2 separate regions of the Homo sapiens genome follow, and region 2 is linked to region 1. Evidence: promoter capture Hi-C in human tissues and cell types (Jung and others, 2019). All regions are on one chromosome and are shown on one strand. The core of a region is centred on a gene start or on the middle of the fragment in contact, and the rest is flanking DNA. Distances in the headings are between cores, read along the strand shown.

What was found. The method cuts DNA at HindIII sites, captures the fragments that hold promoters and counts their contacts. A contact is called where the count stands out against the background at its distance.
Region 2: a contact is called between a fragment that was not itself captured here and the fragment with the promoter of COL1A2 in region 1, in 1 of the 25 tissues and cell types used here (aorta).

Annotation. Positions count from the first base shown.
Region 1 is chr7:94,391,379-94,397,490 of GRCh38, forward strand. It overlaps COL1A2 (collagen type I alpha 2 chain), which reads left to right and starts at 3,517. Exons shown (of 52, transcript NM_000089.4): 1 at 3,517-3,723. The coding sequence starts at 3,654. It overlaps COL1A2-AS1 (COL1A2 antisense RNA 1), which reads right to left and starts at 814. Exons shown (of 6, transcript NR_147206.1): 1 at 740-814; 2 at 27-155. The HindIII fragment of the contact is 19,147 bases long and covers 1-4,911 here.
Region 2 is chr7:94,341,562-94,347,673 of GRCh38, forward strand. The region is part of intron 1 of LOC112267858 (a long non-coding RNA gene); the gene reads right to left. It overlaps LOC107986821 (a long non-coding RNA gene), which reads left to right. Exons shown (of 4, transcript XR_001745275.2): 3 at 2,066-2,157; 4 at 5,099-5,502. Among named protein-coding and RNA genes, the nearest start is that of COL1A2-AS1, 48 kb to the right of the region's middle. RefSeq lists an enhancer at 5,089-6,112. The HindIII fragment of the contact is 5,169 bases long and covers 381-5,549 here.

The sequences.
Region 1 (6,112 bases), core at 2,267-4,766:
CTACCACATTAATTCTCAGCAAATACCTTCTTAGCAGTCGTTTGACAATCAAGTCAACTAGAACTGGAACTAGAATGAGATAACATGGTATTGCTTCTTCTCACAGAGTAGATCCTCAATGAATGTTTGAAAGGAGATGTCAGTCCGATGTTTACCTTTGATCAAAGAAAGGAATATAAGATTAAGACATCAGGGCCTCGTCAGGCTGTTCTGCATTTCTGTATTAGCCAGACTCTCAACCATTTTCTTGCCATATATAAACATGTGGCCCAGTTTGTAATCAGTGGGTTATAGGAAGCTAAAGAAATTATCTTTTCTTTCATAGAAAATAATTTGGGCATAGGAACCCAGGTATTAACCGTCTAGCACCAAAGTTGTAGGAATCTTTAGTCTCCTCTGCCTCCCTTCTTCCATCCCTCTACTCTCAGTCTTGACCCCACCCCACCCCTTACTTGTTTTTCCTTCTACTCATTTTCTCCTCCCTCCCTCTCCCCTCTCCCCACACTAGAACCATCAGGGCCCTCACCAGGGCATTCAGTTCAGGTTCTGGGTCAGCTCTCACAGCTCTACCAGTCCCACCCCCATCCCCAGGAAAAACTGCTCCTTATTTGGAGTCACAAAAATATTTAACAGAGATCTAACTGACCACTAAAAATTCCTCCTTTAAAACAAACACCTAATCAACTATTTTCCCCCAAGTTATATGGAAAAACAGCTGCAATTAGAACTTGATTCTCACTTTAAGAAAGAAAGATTCTTGTTTGGTTTTCTCCACTTTCATTTTTTGTTTCTAGGTCCAGGGCCTCCCACCAAATGCTGACGGCTGCCTGCTTCAAACCCTGCCACATCAGCAGGGAGGGAGCACAGCGGCATTTGGTATTTGCATCAGTTTCCAGGAATGCTTTTCAAGTTATCAGTTCACTCTGCTGCCTTTAGCAGAGACGTTTTCCCTCTAAGTTTATAGATGTCTGCTTCAATTTACAGTCCTCTAATTCTCAAAAACTTGCTGAGGATTTTTCTTTTTTGGCTAAAAGAGAAATTATAATCACACTTCTAAAAACATTCTATGTTTTAAACTATTTTGACAACAACAACAAAACCTACAATGAAATGTTTAAAACTTGGGATATCTATTGCAAATCCAATGATTGAGCCAACTTGACCCCAGAAGCGTTATCAGATAACCTCACTGAAGGGTATTTGGAGGGTTTCTTTCATAAATCTGTTGCATTACCACCCTGAGTCATTTTGCTCAGAATTAGTCTCTGACTCTCAGCAACACAGGACAAATACACACATATGCCCTGCAAAGGTAATTCAGCACAGTGGTAACAATGATTCTTAGAAATCATTTCTCACTCTTCTGATATGCAGAAAAAAATTTGTTATGATGTAGTATTGAAGTTTTTCTTTCCTGATAAAAATGATTTCCACTTTAAAAGTTTTTTGTTAGTTCTGTAACGGTGATATTTCAGGGAAATGTTAAAAATGTTCTTGGAATATACAATTCAACCTCAGGTCTTTTGTTGTTGTTGTTCCTAGAACCTAGAAAACTTCAAACATTGTTGCCTAGTTAGAAAAAAATTTGAATGTGGATTGCTCCCTGTAAACCCCCTTCTAGGAATGACCAGTAACCCTTTCAAATTCTTTCACTCCCAGTTACTTCAAAAAATCATCCAAAGTGGTCTCCCAAGTGAGTGCCTTTAATTAGAATAAAACAAGAGTTTATTATAGTTTTTGGTTATCCACTTTTACTTGCATTAACCTTTTTTTCTTCTTTTACATTTAGAAAGAGTAACCTGCTTTAGAATAGTCCCTTTTATTTACAGAAGCTGCTGATGGAGTTAACTTCTGCAGAAATTCTTCCTTAAGGCAAAGCAAAAAAAGCGGGGAGGGGGTGGGGGGAAGGAAGGGAAAAAGATTCTCAGGGAACTACAGCCCACTTGCTTCTGTTTCTTAGAGACAGAACTGACCTAAAGATGCCCCCTTTGCGATGACTTCTGGGATAGAGCAGCACTCTAACTAGGCCCCCGCTGCCTCATGGGGACCTTAGGCAAGTAGAGGAGAGGCCTGACACACACACACACACACACACACACACGCACACGCGCGCGCGCGCACACACACACACACAGCCTTTCAAACCTAGGGCCTGGAATGCCATCCCAAGAGGCTTTAGAAAAAGGCACAGGACCTTTGGCCTCCCACCTCAGGGTCAAAGTACCAGTTCCTCCTCTCCCTAGTAGGGAGTGGAGGGTTGGATGGAGGCGGCCAGAGAAGAGGGAAGTTGGGTGCTGGGGAGAGAGTTAACATCCACGTTGGTGGGCGCACTGCTTGGGGTGTTACCAGCGAAGACTACGAAGACCCCAAGCTCGAATCAGAAGGGCCTCTGGATGTGCTAGGGGAGGTGCTTGGGTGTGGCTGTAAGAGATGGGACAGAGAGTAAGCAGCAAGGTCAAGAGGGACCGGGGGGCTCACGGGAGGGTTGAAGGGTCCAGGCTCAGGGTAGAACTGGTAAATCCAGACAAGGAGCCCATGGAGAAGGGGAGGGGAGACTGGAAACCATGAAAGATCCCCCACCGCAGCCTCAGAAAGGAGAGACTGAGAAATAAGTTCTCGGTCTCCAGGTCGGTTGGAGTCGTGTCGGAGTGCCAGACCATCCCCCAAAAGACCCTCTTTGGAATGAGCCTCAGCAAAGGCAAGCTAGGAGGTCGAAGGACTTCCCCAGGTGACTCGGTCTAGTCTAGAGTTCGCAAAGCCTATCCTCCCTGTAGCCGGGTGCCAAGCAGCCTCGAGCCTGCTCCCCAGCCCACCTGCCAACAAAAGGCGCCCTCCGACTGCAACCCAGCCCTCCACAGACAGGACCCGCCCTTTCCCGAAGTCATAAGACAAAGAGAGTGCATCACTGCTGAAACAGTGGGCGCACACGAGCCCCAAAGCTAGAGAAAAGCTGGACGGGGCTGGGGGCGGGGTGCAGGGGTGGAGGGGCGGGGAGGCGGGCTCCGGCTGCGCCACGCTATCGAGTCTTCCCTCCCTCCTTCTCTGCCCCCTCCGCTCCCGCTGGAGCCCTCCACCCTACAAGTGGCCTACAGGGCACAGGTGAGGCGGGACTGGACAGCTCCTGCTTTGATCGCCGGAGATCTGCAAATTCTGCCCATGTCGGGGCTGCAGAGCACTCCGACGTGTCCCATAGTGTTTCCAAACTTGGAAAGGGCGGGGGAGGGCGGGAGGATGCGGAGGGCGGAGGTATGCAGACAACGAGTCAGAGTTTCCCCTTGAAAGCCTCAAAAGTGTCCACGTCCTCAAAAAGAATGGAACCAATTTAAGAAGCCAGCCCCGTGGCCACGTCCCTTCCCCCATTCGCTCCCTCCTCTGCGCCCCCGCAGGCTCCTCCCAGCTGTGGCTGCCCGGGCCCCCAGCCCCAGCCCTCCCATTGGTGGAGGCCCTTTTGGAGGCACCCTAGGGCCAGGGAAACTTTTGCCGTATAAATAGGGCAGATCCGGGCTTTATTATTTTAGCACCACGGCAGCAGGAGGTTTCGGCTAAGTTGGAGGTACTGGCCACGACTGCATGCCCGCGCCCGCCAGGTGATACCTCCGCCGGTGACCCAGGGGCTCTGCGACACAAGGAGTCTGCATGTCTAAGTGCTAGACATGCTCAGCTTTGTGGATACGCGGACTTTGTTGCTGCTTGCAGTAACCTTATGCCTAGCAACATGCCAATGTAAGTGCCTTCAGCTTGTTTGGGGGAGACTGGGTAGAGAGGTTAGATGGGAGGGCACCCTGCCCTGAAAAGGAAAACCTGTAACCTGAATTCCAGGTACACTTGGAGGGCAGACTCTCAGGCATGTGGGAAAACGCCGGAATTGATAAGAAACATGGAAATTACTTTAAAAAATGAAAACATAAAAGCCTTGCCAAAAGTTAGGGAACTTTTCCTCTAAGTTCAGAGTGAGACAGTTAACTCGGTCTGGCTCCTCAGCTTAGTAACCCCCAAAGGGAGCGGAAGGTCTTTTTCCCTAAGGATGAGATATTAACGACCAATGTGGTGGAGGAAGTCAAGGGCCTGCACCCCACAGGCCCCATAACCGCACTGATGTCCACCTTGTAAAACTTGAGGCCTGCGTTAGAAAGCCCTTCAACTGAGTAATGTAAAACTCACCTCCTAAGAGCTTTTATCTTCTGGGCATTGTAAGGCTTGTCCGGAGGAGGAGGATGACGATGCTGATATGATGATGGTTATAAGGCGCCCTCTGGAGGAAGGAAAATGAAAGTACAGGGGACAGGGCCTTAAGCAGATGGAATCCCAATTAAAGCTTCTACGGATTTATACAGATTAATGATCAGCATTTCTGGTTGGAGCCTTTCCCAGTGGCTAGTCAGTGAACCCTGGAAAGAAGAATGGATGCTACTTGGAGTGGGTACATTCTGAAAAGTAATATAAGTGTCTCAATTCACTTTCTAGTCATGGAAATGGTAACATTTTTTAACTCAAATCTGCTCTAAATTTTGTTTGAGCCTGAGAATTACCCCTTTGACATGTTCCCAGTGATAAGCAAACATTATGAACGCAGCAAGTTGAGAAATATCAACATTGAGATGAGACTCAAGAGACCGGGGTTTTTCCCATGAGTCTGACACCAATTTGCTGCGTGACTTTGGGCAAGTCAAACGGCCTTTTCTAAAATGTGAGACAGAGATTAAAGGGACCCCAAGGCCACTTTCCAGCTCTAGGTTCCATGGCCAGACTTTCATGTCAACAGAGAATGAAGAAGATCAGTCCGTTTTCATCTTGAAAATGGCTGCCAAAGTGCTAGACAAAGATATTGACTAGATGGGGGATGGTATTGTCTGACCACACCCAGTACTCCAAAAAGTTGTTCCACCCACACAGCACGGTGTCTACCACTGCATAATTTCTAATGCATTTGTGTGCTTGTGTGTGTGTGTGTGTGTGTGTGTGTGTCTGTGTGTCTGTGTGTCTCTTCCCCCTTCATTCACTTTTAGTATACATACTGTGGATACTAAGGAGTAATTGCAGTGAACAAATTCACATTACCGAGTTCATATTTTTAATGAGATCTTGAGAGTGGGAGGAAAGAGTCGGCTCCTAGAGAATAAAATGAAGGCAGACTTAGGGAAATTTGAAGGTACAAAGGCAACTTACCTTCTGATCAACAGCCAACCACAGTCTGGAATAAATGTTATCAAACACACATTCTTCAAAATGGTCCATGTCTGAGTAATTAAAAGGCAAATTTCCAAAATCATAAGGACTTCCGTTAATCAAGTCAGGCATAATTATTCTTCCTACTGATGGACACAATGAAGTAAACATATCATTCTTGTAATTTAACAGTAATTCTCGTAAATTGCCCTTAAATGTCAGTGCTGGATGTGGTCCACCCTCCTAAATTGTGACTGTTGCAACAGATGTTCTCACTTCAAATAACGCACTTCTTGGCCACCTAATTAAAGCAATTTTTGGGGTGATTCATCCTACTGCAAGCTTGGCCACACTTGTATCCTGTATTAACCTATAATTTTTGTACCGTAGGAGAAGAATTCACTCTTTAAGGACTTATAACAATTATGGCAAAAGGGGGGATAGTACTTTTGTTTATTTTTTCTATTATTTTTCAAGATCTTTAATCCGGTTTTTCCATTTATACAAAACTCTTTCTCCGAGACAAAAATGATACATATTGGTAAAATGATCTTACCTAATTTAAGTGAACTAATTTAAAGCAAAATTCAGATGTCTGAATTAATCCATTTTCATAGTTAATAATGTGCAAATTAGACCTTTTGAAAAAGGATATTAAGAATGGTACAAACTCAATGAAGTACTAGGTAACTTCAATGTTTTATAAAAAAGTAAGTCAGCTTCAATGTTTCATAAAAAACAAATTCAATATAGAATTTTAAGGTAACATACTTTCCTAAATTTTACCTTTTTTCGATATTTAGGTATTAAAAATGATCAAAATCATAAATTATTTCCTCATCAATCTACTAGTCTTACATTCAGCGATTCATCTGTGCACTTTACCAGCTTAATTGCTAAGCATTCAAAATATCCTTCAGACACATTAATATTTCACAACAGTTAT
Region 2 (6,112 bases), core at 1,715-4,214, 50 kb before region 1:
TTTCATGGGTGTTTCACAAACTATGCAGACTTCAATAACTCACTCTCTAATAATATACTCTGGATAATTGTTAGCTTCATGAAATGCAATTGCCTATACTTTAAGTTATAATTAGAGGAATTACTTAAAGCCTCAAGTGGCCTTTGGAAATCTGAAAATGGAAGCTGAATTTATAAACGCTAGGAAAGAATAGGAAATCCCAGAATCCTAAATCACCAGACTCAAATACATGTGAACTCACTGAGAGACATCCTCTTGCTTTGGTTATAACAACCAGACTTATACTGACATTAACACCAATGCTACAGTTACTAAATGAGAAAACTGAGTTCACAGAGATCAGTTTTTTAATGTACAATACATTTACCGAAGAAAAGTCTTTGTGACTCAGCTGAACAAAGGAAGTGTAGTTTTTAAAACAGACTTGTTGAGGAAGGGGCAACTCTAGTCATAAAGATGGAAAATTAGCCTCTGTGGCATCTGATTCAATGACAATGGTGAATTTTGCAAATTACGTATCTAAGACTTGGTCAGTCTGGGACCATTTGCCTCCATTTCCATAATATTATTGGCTGTTGTCAGAAAATGACTTGAATAGCCATATATAGAAAGACCCATAAGTTGTTGCTATTATAGACAGTTTGAGCATTGTATCGTTTTCTTCAGAGAACTCAGTAATTTGTCTACCTTTCCATAACTTTGTCAGATGAATTCCATCGCACCAACTATTCTAAAATGAAATTAAGATCATCTCACCCCAAAGTCCTGGTCCAAGCTCTACCTTCTTGTCCGTCACTACTTAAGCTTAGTTCTCTACCCAATATATGTATATTAAGATAAACTACTTTTACTCTAACTTTTACCCTTTCTACCTACACATATCATTAAAATGTAAAATATAAGTCTCTAAATGCAGAACTAAGCCTCTCCTCCAATGAACAATAGTGCTGGTTCTTCTTTCAACTAAATTCAAATTAATACACTTTTTAAAAAATAATTTATGGCCCAAGCAGTGTATTTAGGGTCAGATACACTAAGGTGAATTAGCCAGGAACCCTATCCTCAAAGATGTCTACTAAAAGACTTAAATAATACCTCTACTTTGTGAAATGTAAATGGTCTATCAGTTCATGCTGTTCCCATTTTCCAATCAAGACTTGTATTTCTAGCTTTCCCTTATGTTATCTCTGACTACATTACTCCATAGAACATCATTGATTTGCCCACTTGTTTTGGTACTTTAAAAAATAAAATTAGAATCAGATTAATAAAGCAGAAAGTGGCCTGAGATCATTGATTTCAGACCGTGCTGCGGTCTGAGACTCTCATTTTATAGATGAAGAAAATGAAGTCTTTCAATTCTGATAACGTGGAGAATTGAGGAAACATGAACCTGTTCCTGTTCAGCCATATAGAAATACATGATAAAACAGGATGAAAAAGAGTGTTCAATACATAGTCTACCTCCAAAGAAACAAAGAGGAATCCCCAGAGCCAACAGGAGAGAGGGATTTATTCTGGCAGGAATGGTAAGCTCCAAGTAACCCTGCCACAGTTCCTAGAGGTTTGGGACCTCACAATTGGTCAGACCTCTGGCTGCCTCTGCCCTTCTCAGCCACTGTGGGCTGAGGCAATCACTATCTGCACTGGCCGTACAGGTGTGTTGCTAAGATTTCCTTCAAGAAAACTATGCTGGCAACTTAGCTGATTATTAGCTCCAGCTGTCACCTTTGGGATTCATGCTTTCCCTAGCTGTCCCTAGCCCATGCCTGAGCATAGCACAGGGTAGTAGAGCTAGCCCTTTCCTACCTGACACTGGACTCCTCCAACCAACAACCTTTGGTGGAGGAGTTCCCATGAACCTGGGGTATATCGTCTCAGAACTGTGCTGGGGTCTGAGTTTTCCAATCCAACACTCCCTTTCCTCTCTTCTTTCACAGGTGTCAAAATTGCGTTGACATCTCAAGACTCTTGCTACCACATCCTTCTTTCTTTCTCCTTCAGAAGCACTTTCCAAAATAAATTTCTTAAACATCTAATCTCATCTTTCCATCTGCTCTTCCAGAGACCCAAAGTGACACCAAGTCTGAGCACACCATTGGAGAACCTAGGAAGCTCTACCCTAAAGAACTTTCAGACATGTGCACAAGAAGACCTGTAAGCAACAATGTCCATTACAGCATGGTTTGAAATAGTAGAAAAGCAGCAACAACCTAAATTTTCAAGCATAGAGAAAGGGAAAATTTGGGGGTATATTTACTTAATGGTACGGTAGATAGATAAAAAGAATAAATAAAACCAAAAGTATCAACCTGGATGCATCTTACCAATATAATATTAAGTGAACAAAAAATGTTGCAAAAACACAGAAACAATATGACACAATTTGTTTACATTTAAAAACACATAAATAGTACTCTAGATAGTTTTTTTAATTACAAGAATTTGGGTAGCAAGAACACACATCAACTTCAAGACAGCGGTTATCTCTGGGATAGGAAGGAGAGAAAATAGGATAGGGTGGATTTTAACTTTTTCTGTAACATTTCACCCCTTTTTAAAAAGGATAACAACTGTTAAATTTCATTGGTGGATATATGAGTGTTTGTTATAGTATTTGTTGTACTTTTCTGTGTTTGAAATATTTCCAGATATTTCAAATTAAATAACATAAATATATCTTGAAAGAAAAGAAACTGAGGCCCAAAGAAATGAAATGACATGACCAATTTCACATACTTAGTTCATGGCAGAGCAGCTGGTAGGCTCCTGGACTGGCCCTCTGGCCATCATATTCTGTTGTTATATGCCTTTCTAATACACAGAACTATGGTCAATGTGTCTTCGGTAACCTTCACAGTGACTGGTACCATTGTGGGTGCAAGAAAGCACTAGATGTACTAGAGCAAATTGAACAATTAGCGTTCAACCTTTAATGCAAAATTATTTTATCACTGGAATTATACCCCAAGAGAAAAAAGTTCTTGCTGCAGTCTGACTGCTAAATGTTCAGAAATGTGTGGGCCACGCACCCAGCAGGACCTAGTTCCTGTGTTCCTAATTCCTGGCCCAGATCTTGTCCAGAAACACCAAAAACTTTGTGTTAGACATTAAGATCAGCCATCTGAAAACTGTTAAAGTGTGCCTATAGCATGTAGATGATTTCGGAGAGCTTATATTCTTCCTCTGAAGATTCACTTCTGTGAGAGTCCCACCAGCAGCTGTACTCAGGAACCACTTTGTTTAGAATCTGGAAAATTTAACTGACTCCACTCTCTACACTCCAATGGTGAGGTAGGCCCCTTCTTCTCCTGAACAGAAAATGAGGGGCATACTAACCCTCTAGTGGTCCTACAGAGACCAAATGAAGACACACAGTGCCTGCTCTCAAGAGCTACCCAATATACAATAGAATGCAAGGCCAATAACAGCCAAAATGAAGCACCCTTAAATATTTTAAACCTGAATCATGGGCTAAAACCACAAGCAGAAAAGAATGATCAGTATGTACATTTATTAGGGTCATCTTTATATATTTCTGTTGTGAAAGGCAATTATTTTTCTAACTTTAGTAAAACGTAACACATTTTTACTAATTTTGGTTACATAAGAATTTGAGGTGAATACATCCTTGAGGGTAAGCTTTGACTTTTTTATTAGTATACTTTTAAAAGCTGACAAAGGGCTTGGCACATTATTAATGTTTGTTGATTGAATGAAAGGATGAATAAATGAATATAAGCGAAATTAAGACATATTTCTTACTGACAGACACTAATGACTAAAAAAGGCTTCCAACAAATGAGCAGAGTTGACAATTAAAGTGTAAATAGGAATCTAATGAATGTTCTAATTGATCTTCCCTGCTTTAAGATGTAGCCAGAATTTTTTAACCTTGAGATACAATGCTCAGCAAATTAGGAGACTGTCCTTGTGTGACAATCTCTTTAATCAATCTAATAGTTTGTCTACTCAACTACAGACTTTAAGACCTCTGCCAAATTAGTGTTTTGTTTTGTTAGTCTTAGCAAAAGTTATGTCTTAATAATAGATTCATATATGAGGTTTAGCTTGGCACTTTGGACTTCTGTGAAAATAAAGAACATATGTTAAATTGTTTTTTAAAAAGTCTTCAAAGGTAATAAAGTTGGGAGGAAAAAGGAAACTCTCATTCTTTCTTGGTGATTCTACCTACAAGAAAACAATAAACCCTTAATATCTGAATCAGGTTTTAACAAGATTTTTTAAAAAATTGATTATTTCTCTTTAGTTGTGCAGTGGCTTCAAGATAATGAGTGTTAAGCATTCCTTCAACCCATCGAGAAGTTTGATACCATCTATACAAGGCTTGCTAAGAGATGGCAAAGCAAAAAAAAATTTTTTTGACCCAGACCAGACCACCCACCTCCAGCCTATGAAGGAGAATAAAGGCTGAAAGGGAAATTGACATTTACAAAGTGGATTTTGTGAGGGAGCTGTTAATGAGTGTTGAGTCCCACACAACTCCCATGGGGAGAAGGATTAGGTGTGTTTTCCTTCATTTCAAGCCCAGGGAATGTGGCTTCAATGGGACCATGTAGAGAGCTCAAGGTGTGCCCCAGGTACTGTCAGAGGACAAAAGAATATGGGGAAATGCTAGCTGACTAGTAATTCTGATCTGATGGAAGACAAAGAAAAGCTGACATGAAGAAAGGTTACAACAGAATTTCTTGAGGTAAAGAATATGCATAGTTATATGAATTTAACAGAAAAGAATCAACCTTGAGGTCCTCTAAATATTGCCCAAAATAACTTCCTAGAGGCACACAGTATCCCCAACACAGGAGTGTAGCACTAGGAGACTATCATGTAAGTGAGCAACTATAGGGAGGAACATCCCTGAACATCAAAAGAACTGCAGGCTAGGTACCCTAGTGATTCAGGGTTGGTGGGTGGAAAGTTTTCAAATAATGCCCCAAAGTTTGCCAGGAGAAAGTGTCAGCTTTAAACACCTGCCAAGCCCAGAGAGCACATCATCATTAGTTGAGAGACATCAACTAATTTCAGTGGTGATCAACTAATGCCTTTGCTTTTCTCTTACCTCCCCTCTCTCTCTCAGCTCCCTCCAATCCCAAAGGGGTCAGAAACTGCAATTAGCAAGCTGGAGGAGGAGGAGGAGGAGGAAGAGGCACAGAAGCAGGAGGTGGGGAGCCTGAGACAGAGATCATCCTGTCTGCCCTTCCCACTTCAGGCTACCACCTCTTGCAGACCTACGTTAAATGAAATGAGAAGCCTCAACTTTGACTACTATTAAGGTATTACATAGAAGTAGACATTTTAGGGGCCAAAATAAAACTTTCTGGGTGACTAGAAGAGCACAAAGGATCTCTCATTTTCTGAAAGTGGAGTGATCGAAAAAAGCCACTGTGCCATTCCTGGAATTCATTCAAGAACAGAAAAAAATTTGTCCTACTGAGTGGGCTAAAAGAAATAGGGGAAAGATTAAAGCTGTCATGTGATTTCATTCCAGGAGACCTGCTTGTTCACTATAATGAGGTTATTTTCCCACATCAAGAAAAAACCTCCAATAAGTTCTATTTCCTAGTCTTACTGTAGATATTCCACTCCACGAACAATGAGGGAATGGTTGCACTTAATTGTTTGATGTCCATGTAGTCCAGTGGAAGAAAATTCTGTCCAGGTTCTCCAGTCCCTACCTGCTGAAGCCCAGTCCCCAACTAACTCATTCAGGCAGGCAAAAAATACTGTAAATTCATTTTGCTGCCCTGAGTTCAGTACCAGCTGATGTTGGGTTGGGTTCACTCTTCACCCCCTGCCCATCATGATTTTTTTCTCATGCCCACTATTAACTGACCAGTTTGTGTAATGGTAACCTGCTTTCCCACAGAGACCTGGATTCTTTGGCCCGCATGCCCTACCATGAGCCAGGGTCACCTTCCTGACAGATTCATCTCTTAGACTCTCAAATGCACATCACCTGACATGAAGTTCTGTCCAGCTCTGTGCTTCCTCCACTCTGCCCCAACGACCAGATTCGACCTCTCTGTAGCAACACCAGCCCACATCAAAACTGGTCATGCCACACCCACAGGGAGGAATCCCAGCCCTTCCC